2 separate regions of the Homo sapiens genome follow, and region 1 is linked to region 2. The links are contacts of gene promoters, found by promoter capture Hi-C in blood cells and fetal thymus (Javierre and others, 2016). All regions are on one chromosome and are shown on one strand. Each heading gives the region's core, a stretch centred on a gene start or on the middle of the fragment in contact. The rest is flanking DNA. Distances are from core to core; before and after follow the strand shown. Region 1 overlaps FXR1 (FMR1 autosomal homolog 1). Region 2 holds the start of MRPL47 (mitochondrial ribosomal protein L47).

Evidence for each region. Contacts are between HindIII fragments. The CHiCAGO score rates a contact against its expected background, and 5 or more counts as called.
Region 1: a fragment that was not itself captured here is called in contact with the fragment with the promoter of MRPL47 in region 2 in 1 of 17 cell types (monocytes); the score reaches 5.3 in monocytes.

The regions. Positions count from the first base shown.
Region 1 is chr3:180,965,980-180,971,798 of GRCh38, forward strand. FXR1 (FMR1 autosomal homolog 1) reads left to right here. Exons shown (of 17, transcript NM_005087.4): 14 at 2,072-2,275; 15 at 4,179-4,379. Among named protein-coding and RNA genes, the nearest start is that of DNAJC19, 21 kb to the right of the region's middle. The HindIII fragment of the contact is 5,116 bases long and covers 1-4,468 here.
Region 2 is chr3:179,602,292-179,608,183 of GRCh38, forward strand. It overlaps MRPL47 (mitochondrial ribosomal protein L47), which reads right to left and starts at 2,347. Exons shown (of 7, transcript NM_020409.3): 1 at 2,236-2,347; 2 at 361-506. The coding sequence starts at 2,333. It overlaps NDUFB5 (NADH:ubiquinone oxidoreductase subunit B5), which reads left to right and starts at 2,503. Exons shown (of 6, transcript NM_002492.4): 1 at 2,503-2,648. The coding sequence starts at 2,525. RefSeq lists enhancers at 1,637-2,503, 2,429-2,628, 2,504-3,370, 2,809-2,968, 2,999-3,088. The HindIII fragment of the contact is 8,643 bases long and covers 1-2,947 here.

The DNA of each region.
Region 1 (5,819 bases), core at 661-3,160, 1.4 Mb after region 2:
AGAGTCTTCAGAATGAAGTATTCTTCATTTGCCCTGAATTTTGGTAATGTTTTCAGGTAGGGTATAGGTTTGTAAATAAATTCAGAAGTTCTTAAACATTCTGAAAGGCTTTTTTTTTCACTATTCAAGGAAAGATAAATTGCCTTCATTACAACTTTTATGACATCCTGTTAATAAAGTACTTTTTGTCATTTGGTGAAATAAATGTTAGGGGAAATTAATTCCCTTCCCTGAGATTCTAATCCCAACAAAGAATTGAAAGTGAGTAATAGAAATTTGATGTATTCTTTGAAAAATACACATCCAACTAATTACCTAATTGTTTTTATAATTGACTAGTTACATCTATTAACACCATGTAGAGAAAAGGTAGGCATCCTAGAGTTATCGTTAAAGGAGAAAGGAAGTGAGGCACCTTCATGTATAAAACTTTACATTTTATTCCCTGCACCTTAATACTTAAAACTTCTTATGTCTGAAGAGCTCTTGTTTGCATTTTTCCTCAAATGATTGCAGAGTTTAAATATAGGGAACTTCAAGGTATTTCATGAAATCACTCTTATCTGAGAGTTTAGCAAATGAACTTCAAAATAATGCAGCAAATTATTTGGTTGAGAAAATTGTTATACACTCTGCCAGGCATTTGAGGACATATAAGATGGAGTTCCACCCTTTATCATAGACCAATTTTGAAGTAATTCCACAGGGGGAAAAAATAACAACATGGCACAGTCTGTGATAGATGTGGGGCGATTTTAGGATAACAAAAAATGGGGAGAGATCTGTCTTAGTTGCAGTGGTCTGAAGTTAGAATTTGAACTAGGCCCTGAAGGAGATATATTTGGTCATATAAGAGGGAAAGAAGAAGTGGCATCCCAGAACTAACAAGTGGAAATGAATATGATAGTGATTGAGTCATATGTATCTGACATTTGAGTTACAGTAATTATTAAATAATGATAATGTAGGCCTCTGATTATATCTTTGTGGTGTTTAAATAAATTTTTGAAAGGTCACCATTACAATAGTTGCAGTGTTAGAAATGGTCTGTAAACTTTTAAAGGCAATGCTGAATATTTGTCTCACTGGTCATGGCTTCAGTTCTGTTGTCAGGTGAGAGACCTTCTGTTTCAGAGAAACCTTAAATTCTGTTTAGTAATTGCAAATATTAGGTTGGTGCAAAAGTAATTGCAGTTTTTGCCATTAAAAGTAAGAAAAGCAAAAAGTAAAAGTAGTTACTTTTAATGGCAAAAACCGCAATTTAAGATGCTAGTAAAACATGCCATCATTTTATATACAACCTACTGGAAAAATTACTTCTAGCTTATAATAAAGATGCCATCAATTATAAGAAATATCTTGATTTCAGAGATGTTAACATGTGAAAAGTATACCCTAGAATCAATGAAATTATGGTGAAATACACTATACAGTTAAACTATTCAGTTTTCTAAATATGATTAATTTACTCAAATATTGAAGTTATTTTTATTGTACTAATAATTTAGGTTACTAAAACCCAAATCAGCAGAAACATTTGACTATCCATACTAAGTACATTCTAATATTGATAAATGATGTTCTGTATGGTTTTTTTTTTTTGGTGCCAAAACCTAGGAATTAATGTTCTGTATATTTTCTGTAATTTTTCTGTTGACTGCATTTCTGCACATCAGTTTTTTTTTTAACTTCCATGACTTTGTATTTCCTGGATATTATCCCCTTTTGCTGATGAGATGGTCACACCTTTGACTATATTACATGACATAGCACATCTTAGCAGACTGCAGTGAGGGATTCTTCTGCTGGTTTTGAAGAAGTGAGCGGCCTTCTGCACATCAGTTTATTTTTTAATCTGTATTAACTAGTAGATACTATACTAGTATATTAATAGTATAATAATTGATTATTCCTTAGTACGTTTCAGATTGATTTTAACTTTCATGGATCTTTCTTTGAAGCAGCCAAACAGTATTGCTTATTTAAACAATAATTTGTAGGACATAATTTTGAACATTTTAAAAGGCTTTTTATAGAAATCTAAGTGGTTTATGTTCTTTTCTTTTCCAAGGTACAAATTCTGAGCTGTCTAACCCCTCTGAAACGGAATCTGAGCGTAAAGACGAGCTGAGTGATTGGTCATTGGCAGGAGAAGATGATCGAGACAGCCGACATCAGCGTGACAGCAGGAGACGCCCAGGAGGAAGAGGCAGAAGTGTTTCAGGGGGTCGAGGTCGTGGTGGACCACGTGGTGGCAAATCCTCCATCAGTTCTGGTAGTCTTTTCTATACTCTGTCAGCATCCATTATTTGTAAACAGTTTAATTTTACAAAAGTTAATTCATCTCCCAGGGCCACCCATTTTTGGAAGTTTCTCTTGCTACTCATTGTCTTAGAGAAAGTAGTGGACCATATAGCAGTATCAGGAAAAGCCCTCGTAGAGTGTTTCTCAGTGAAGGTTTACTTAGAATATACTGGTCAGAACTTTAGTTGGCAGCTTTTCTTTATATGATGAGGGTCAGATGTTTCTCTCTTCAGGTTTTGGAGGCTTATTTAATTAGAATTTTTTTTGTTTTCCCTAGAATTTTGGGGTTATGTTTTTTTGTTTGCCAGACAGACCCAGAGATTTCTAATGCACAGAGAGATGTCAGTACTTTTCTATACTTAATATTGAAAACGAAGTGAAGAGCATTCTTAGCTACACTATGTAGTACTTTGGGAACAGGGAAAAATTGTGGAATTAACTAAGTTTTTTAATTGTTGGAGGAACTGTGCTGTAAAGAGGAGTGTTTGGATGACTAAAGATTTGAGGGTGTAGGAAACGTTTTACTTAATTACTTCTGTCTTCTAAAATTTTTTTATGCTTTACATTAAGTTGTAGGAGTTTCCAGAATATCCTTGGTTACCATAACGGGCTAGGGAGTTAATTGCCAGGGATAGATACATAGACTATATTAAGGATATAACTTTAACATATCATTATGGTATACCACGTTAAGAAACCCGCACCTTCCTTAATGTTATACCCATGAAAACTTATGTAGTATTTTAATATTATAGAAAGTGTGTGTAGATACATTAAATATAGATGCCAACTGTGCTTACAAATTACAAAAACTGGAACAAATCAGGGCAAAAATTAGGAACTTGTTCTTTGTTTGTTTAGATTTTCTCCCTTTCCACAGTAATACTCTTTGAGCCTTAAGTTTAGTTTACAGGCTTTCAGGGTAATAGTTTTTATATTTTAGTACACTTTGTACAGTTACCAAGGTGTTTAAAATTACAGTATACTGAATTGCAAAATAAATGTACTTGACCTAGTGTTTTATGATTAATGGATACGCTTAGTGTCTTTTGCAAAGATGCTTAGCTTGCTAGCTGTTACCAAAGGAATCTTAGGAAAAATCGGAATTAGGTGAATTTCTTCTATAAATTTGATTGTTGGAGGTAATAAATGCACATAGGTAAGATGGGTATTTTTCTTATGAATTGTACCTTACAGTTTTTCCTTTTCCACCTTCACATCACCTTCCATAATGTTTCTAAAGATGGAGTACTAGTCAGCATTCGTTTCAACATTTTCCTTTCATAACCAGTTAGAAGTTCAACCTTATTTAATTGGCTGCTTTGTTTCAACTTGTCTTGATTGCTTCAGTTCAGTTACGGATTTCTATTATGTCATGGAATGCAGGTATTGAATATTATTTGGGAAACAGTCCATCAACATCAACACAACAAAGCTGCAGTCATTTTGAACTCAGTTAAGGGGATGAAAGCTCGCTCTTATAATTATTTCTTAACAGCTGAATATTTGTTTCTTTTCATTTTTGTTTTTCTAGTCTCTGGGCAGGATTACCTTGAAATGTGAATGCAAGAATTAGCATTTAATACACTATTTTCTAATGTATATTTTAAAAACAAGGCACAGGAAATGTTAGGAAGCCAAGATGTCTGCTTACTTTCTGCTTTAATTTTTCATCACCACTTAAAGTTTTATCATATTTAATTATCTTTGTTATTTTCCAGGTAAATAATATTGAAAACATTTTATTTGAAGACAGTGCATTTTTATTGGGGGAGACTGAAGTTTATTTGTCATTGATATAGTTCAATATAGATCAAACATTCATAATTGCAGTACTCTTAAACGAATATTTCTTGCCTCTGACATGAATATAGTGCTCAAAGATCCAGACAGCAATCCATACAGCTTACTTGATAATACAGAATCAGATCAGACTGCAGACACTGATGCCAGCGAATCTCATCACAGTACTAACCGTCGTAGGCGGTCTCGTAGACGAAGGACTGATGAAGATGCTGTTCTGATGGATGGAATGACTGAATCTGATACAGCTTCAGTTAATGAAAATGGGCTAGGTATGTAAGCACTTAGGGAAGAGAAATATATATATATATATATATATATATATATATATATATAATTGTAAACTATTGTTAGTATATGAAGCTTTTTTCAAAGAAATATGCAATTCACAAATTGACTTTTTCTTAGTGTTTACTTTGAACAAGGTAGATAGCTTTTTGTCTATCTTAAATGTTTAGTTCTCAGATTTGTTATAGCCAAATTATTTGAAACTTGGAGGGTTAAAGTGCCCTTTGATGCCATTAAATCAGTACAAATATTCAGCTGGCAAGGTACTTAGTGCTTTTATTGTCCCCAAGCTAAAATCAGGCTTTCATCTTGCCTCTTTTAAAATAATTATAAATGACACTGGTAAAGGTACATATATCAAGAGTAGGCATTAATTTTCAAGGGCTAAAATGTCATTAACTTCGGTATAAACCAAACTGTACTAGAGAGGAAGACTGTGTCCCTGAATGATGGCAGTTTAAGTCTGAGTTTTACTGTGAGTTAAAACCCTCTGAATTTCCAGATGATAATTCCATTTTTAATCCATTTGGAATGCTGAAAGCTACAAAAATGTATTTCCTGTCAGTAAACATTTGTTGTTTTATTTTTGTGTTTAATTAAAAGTTTATTTTTCCCCTTTAAATCTTTGAAGGAAAGAAGGTTTTTTTGTTTTTTTGTTTGTTTTTGTCAGAATAGTTCATGGTAAACTTTGCAATTACAGATGATAGTGAAAAAAAACCCCAGCGACGCAATCGTAGCCGCAGGCGTCGCTTCAGGGGTCAGGCAGAAGATAGACAGCCAGGTAACTTGAGTGGACCTGTGGACACCATCAGGTCACAAGCATGAAAAAAATGTCTATGTCTGCTTTCTAAATATATTATACTTACATGTACACATGTGTGCATATACATTCAAAATTTGCATTGCATAAATTGTTTATTCAACTAATAAGACTACTACTATTAAGAAAATGCATTCTTCCTTCACAGTGTGTTAGTAACTTGTCTAATTGAACTAATGTTGTGTCCTAATTGTTTACATGGAAATACTGTTGAGAAGACCATTTTGTTCACTTGGCAGTTTCTTCACACTTGAGATGGGGCCTGCCATCCGAGGGACTGTGTTGTAGATTGTGATCAAGGTTGATTGGCAAAACTGGGCAGCTTTTGCATGGTGCCTGCTTACTATATCTGAATTCAGCACCTCATTTTTGTGGGAGTTGTAATACCCACAATTAAAAAAAAAGTATAAAAGAGAAAAATATTTGAAGGTGTCTTTAACCTAATGCGAGGAATGCATGTTGTTTTTGTTTGTTTATTGTAGTGTGATGCCTTTTCCCTTACACCTACTAACTATTCAAATTAATAATACTTACTTAGTTTTAGAATGTTTATTTTATGTAGTCATTAATTTTTAGTAACTTCAAAGAAACTTGTTTGCTGTGT
Region 2 (5,892 bases), core at 1,097-3,596:
TGAGATTGTGCCACTGCACCCCAGTCTGGGCAACAAGAGCAAAACTCCATCTCTAAATAAATAAACAAACTTTAAATTATCATTAAAAAATAAAATCTAAAATAAGCCCTAAACCTTACTTTAGTTAATAATTTCAGCCTATTCCTTATCTAACCATCTTGCCAATCTGCCAAGGAACAATTAACTCTACTATTATATTGTCCCTTTAATTTTCTCTAGTAGACAGTCTCAAAGAAAACTGAAAAAGGAAACATCTAAATAATTCCTAAACTGGATATATAATCCTAGAACGATGGTTGGGCGGGGCGGGGGGGGGGGTTCCATAAATATATCTAATGTTGACAAATCCAAGTATCTCACCAGATTTTACTTTTTCTTGCCCCCAGTTTTTTGGGTCATCAAAAAATTCTTCTAGTCCTTTCCTTGACAATGTGGTATGAAGTAATCTATATTGGTGAAAGGATGTCACATTTGGTGTACTCTTAGGCAACAAACTAAGAAAAAACCTGCAATTGAACACACATAAACAAGTAAAAGTTTTATAATATCTGGATTTTATAAGCAATAAACATTATCATAATAAACATAATCATTTTGTCATCGATAACATTTTAAAAAGCTACTCAGGGTTTCTGCACAAGAATTAATTTTTTTTTCTTATTTAGAGACTGGGTCTCACTATGTTGTCCAGGCTGGTCTCGAACTCCTGGGCTCAAGTGATCCTCCCACCTTGGCCTCCCAAAGTGCTGGAATTACAGGGATGAGCCACCATGCTTGGCCACAATAAATTTTGAAAATGCTTTAGAAAGTATTGTTAATACTGCATTATAGAAGCTGCTACCTTATAATTTCAGAGGTAACATAGTTACACAATTATATTTTAAGGTAACATTTTTGGGTCCTTCTTACATTGCTAATGGGTGCAAGCGCAGGTAAAAAGAGCAGTCAATTTTGCAACATGTGGGCTGGGCACGGTGGCTCACACCTGTTATCCCAGAAATTTGGAAGGCCGAGGTGGGAGGATCACTTTGAGCCCAGGAGCTCAAGACCAGCCTGGGCAAGATGGCAAAACCTCATCTTTAACAAAAATACAAAAATTAGCCAGGCATAGTAGCACGTGCCTTATAGTCCCAACTACTCGGGAGGCTGAGGTGGGAGGACGCTTTGAGCCTGGGAGGCAGAGGTTTCAGTGAGCTGAGATCACACCATTGCACTCCAGCCTGGGCGACAGAGTCAGTCCCTGTCTCAAAAAACAAAAACAAAAAAACCTCACAATTTTGCAACATGTATCAGGAGCCTCAAATACTTCCTCCTTTAATTCAGTAATTCTGCATCTAGAAGTTTCAACTGAAAAAATTATTATAGATGGGAATTTATAAATTAAGATGTTTATTAAAGCACTATATAGGATGTCAAGTTTTTAATTATGTAAATACGCAGCTAAGAATGGTTTAAAAATTACTGTGCATCTGGATGATAAATTATTATGCAGTAATTCAAAAATCCTGTTTTTAAAAAATAGTTAACGACCTGAGATGATTTGAAACTAAATAATGAAGTTTATCACAAGTGTTGTATCCCTACCAAAAATATTTAGCCTAAATCTTATAATGAGGAAACAATCAGACAAATCCAAATGAATAAGATTCTTAAAAAGCTAATCTCATCAAAATGTCAACAACATTAAGAAAAAAAAAAAAAAGAAATTGTTCCGGATAGAGACTAAAGAGTCATGGCAACCAATGTAATAAATGGATACTTCACTGGATCCAGGACCAAGAAAAATAAATAAATAAAAGAAGTTACTAAGTTACCAGTTACTTTCATTGTAACACATCCTGTAAATACAAATATCTCTTCTTTTTTAATCCATCCAAACTTGACACAGACTTGAGTATCACAACAAAAACATCTTCGGTAAAGTTTTTCGCACCTCACCCAGCCCAAGAGGATGCTTCTGTACTTATAGATGTATTTACTTCAACAAATGCTGGACATCTACAAACCCCATATACTGTCTTGTCCACAGCAGGCAGCAACAAAATGAGGAAGGAATAGAAATGTCGGAGGTGAGCGACTTCTCCAAGGTCACTCACTCCTCACCAAAGTGGGCTCCGGCTCTGCCATCCAGGCGGCCGTTCCATTCTTGAGTTGTTCTCGGCATCTCGGCATCTCGGCAACCAAACAAGATCCAAAGTTGGAGAGGTGGGCAAACCTACTTTATACATCACTTACCCTGTGCAGGCAGGGACCTGAGGAGTTATTAACGATCGGGAAGATTTCAGGGCGGATGAAACTCTCCTACAAAGAAGGGCCAAACCGGCCGCAGCCATGTTTTCGCATAACTGGCAAAACGCGTTTCCGCCAACGATAGCGTCACTTCCGGCGTCTCAAGCCGGCGGTGAGGAGAATAGAAAACTTGCCCTCACTTAAGATGGCCACATCCTGCCTTTGTCCTCATTGGTAAATTGGCTCTCTCAGCTTCCGTGACCCGCCTCCCTTCTTCCTCCTGCCCGTAGTAGCCATGGCGGCCATGAGTTTGTTGCGGCGGGTTTCGGTTACTGCGGTGGCAGCTCTGTCTGGCCGGCCCCTTGGCACTCGCCTCGGATTTGGGGGCTTCCTCACTCGTGGCTTTCCGAAGGCTGCTGGTGGGTGCTGGCCTAGGGAGAACGGGCGTGAAGCGGGTGCGGGGCGAGAAAAGGGAGGACGCTTCCAGGGTGACCTTGGTGGGATCCGGAGGGAGCCGGGACAAGTTGTGGGCTTGGGGCTTGACAGGAGAGACGGAGCACGAGCTATATGAGGGGTTTTCCTGAAGTAGCCAGATAGATCGTGTTTACATTATTAGCATTTCTAAAACGTTGTTATTCACCATCCCAATTAATGCTAATTTGCGGATGAAGCTGAGTCTAGAAAGGTATAGAGCTGAGATCTGTATCTCTAGGGCACAAGCTTATTGTTGCGTTCCACCTGCCCAAAGGCTAGGTTCTAGTCCCACAGATGCAAAGTCATCTTGCCGAGAAGCCCACCTATGCTAAGGAATATGAAGACAGGTAATATGTAGACAGGTAAAGAGGCTCAGGGCCAACTTATTCTTTAGGCACAGTAAGTACCGTGCCGCCCAATAATGAGATGCAGATGAACTGGGGAGGAAGAGAGGTTTTTGTTTTGTTTTGTTTTGTTTGTTTGTTTTTTGAGACAGAGTCTCACTCTGTTGCCCAGGCTGGAGTGCAGTGGCGCGATCTTGGCTCACTGCAACCTCCGCCTCCTGGGTTCAAGCGATTCTCCTGCCTGAACCCATGATAGTTTTAGGGGTCTACGAAAGTCTTTTAATTTAAATTTCTTTTTTAAAAAAACCATAATGTTTATGAATATGATAACGAATCCAGCCTGTATTATGTTCGTTTTATACCAATGCAGTCATAAAATATTATTTTTAATAACTTAGACGAAGGGGCCCTTGAAGGCAAAAGTGCCTAGGTCTCAGGAAAGTCATAATACAGTCTTTTTTTTTTTTTCTTTTGAGACAGTCTCACTCTGTCACCCAGGCTGGAGTGCAGTGGCACCATCTTGGCTCACTGCAATCTCCACCCCCCGGGTTCAAGCGATTCTCCCGCCTCAGCCTCCCCAGTAGCTGAGGCTACAGGTGCACACCACCACGCCTGGCTAATTTTTGTATATTTAGTAGAGATGGGGTTTCACCATGTTGGCCAGGCTGGTCTCGAACTCCTCACCTCAAATGATCCGCCCACCTCAGCCTCCCAAAGTGCTGGGATTATAGGCGTAAGCCACTGCACCTGACCAATACAGTCTTAATAGGGCTATTTGGACCTCCTTGGAGACAGTGAGTTGCATCATGGCGGTGTGAATAATCATAGCAAAGATCAAATGCTTGATATTCAGTGTACTTTATTATCTCAGAGACTCTGCAAAGAAATTACAATGTTATTTTCATTTTACAGATGAGGAAACTGACTCAATTATTAAATAATGTGTCACTAAATAATAGCCAACATTTACTGAGCACCTGTTACGTGTCAAGCATCCTTTTTTATTTTTATTTTTTTCAAGACGGAGTCTTGCTCTGTTGCCCAGGCTGGAGTGCAATGGCGTGATCTTGGGTCACTGCAACCTCTGCCTCCTGCGTTCAGGCGATTCTCCTGCCTCAGCCTCTTGAGTAGCTGGGATTACAGTTGCACGCCTCCATGCCCGGCTAATTTTATGTGTTTTTAGTAGAGATGGGGTTTCATCATGTTGGCTAGGCTGGTCTCGAACTCCTGACCTCGTGATCCACCTGCCTTGGCCTCCCAGAGTGCTGAGATCACAGGCGTGAGCCACCCCACCTGACCTCAAGCATCATTTTAAGGGTTTAAAGTATTAATTTATTTAATCCTCTTCATTAGATATATACTGTAAGCTATTTGCCCTGTGCAATAGAAGCAGGTAAAGAGGAAGTGAAACACTTAAAGTCAGAAAGTTGTCTCCAGCCTCAAAATATCTTGTTCTCTTTTTACCCCTATTCTCCCAGTTTAATTTGAATTATGCCACTCCACAGGATGAGGCAATATACATAGGGATTTGCTGGAAACATGATGCAAAGAACCAGTGGTATTTAACAAATTTCCAGCAGGAATTTGAACTTGTTACAAAACTACATTCCTTGATGAAAATCCCTTTATAAGCCATTTCTGATTACAGATATTCTCATATAGCCAAATACAAATCCTTCAAATACTCGCTCTGGTAGTATTCAATCAAATCCAGCTGGAGATAAACTGCAGCAAAATTTCACCCCCAGTTTCTCTTTCCACATTATTGCCCTTTCTTGGGGTTCTCAAAGGATCATTACCGTGTTCTGCGCCCTTTCCAATCAGAGCAGGGAAGGTTCTAATAGCTATGTTTACTAAAGGTTACTGTGTTTTCAGCTGTGTACCTGCTTTCAAAGGTATTTTGCATCTGTCACTGTGATATGAAAGCTTTTAATCTCTTACATGGTTGTTTATATCTGTCCCTACAAGAATGTAAGCTCTAATGTAGTAGAGAGCCTGTCTTGTTTTGTTTTTTCTGGAGATAGACTGCCTATCTTCAAATTCTGGCTCTAGAATTCAGAAGCCATGTCTGTGATCATCACATCTTGGAAGCTAAAGTGGAAGACACCTAATTGCTCATAACCTGCATTTCCTCCTCTTTAAAAAAGATGAGAATTTTAACCTGCCTCAAAAGGTAGTTGTGAAGAGTGAGTGGAAAAAATCAACAGTGCCTGGCAGCAGTAGCCTTTAAAAAAATTGTGGTAAAGTACACATAACATTTACTATTTTAACCATTTTTAAGTGCACCGTTCAGTGGTATTAAATACATTCCTAATGCTATGCAACCATCACCATCATCCAACTCCAGAACTTTTTTCATATGGTAAAACTAAAACTCTGTATCCGTTAAACAATAACTCTCCATTCCCCTTCCACGTAGCCCCTGGTAACCACCATTCTGCTGTCTTTATGATTTTGACTACTCTATTTCTCATGTAAGTAGAATCATATAATATTTGTCTGTCACTTAGCATAATATCCCCAAGGCATATTTATGTCGTAGCATATGTCAGAATTTCCTTCCTTTTTAAAGCTGAATTGTCCGTTGTCCATTGTATGTATTTACCCCATTTTGCTTATCCATCATCTGTCAATTGGGTTGCATCTAGGTTTTGTTTGTTTGTTTGTTTGTTTTGTTTTTGAGACAGAGTCTTGCTCTGTCTTCCAGGCTAGAGTGCAGTGGCACCATCTTGACTCACTGCAACCCCTGGCTTCCCGTGTTCTCATATCAAACTGAAGGTCAGGCTGCTATTTCTTGCCATCCAATAATGAGATGCAGATGAACTGGGGAGGAAGAGAGTTTTTT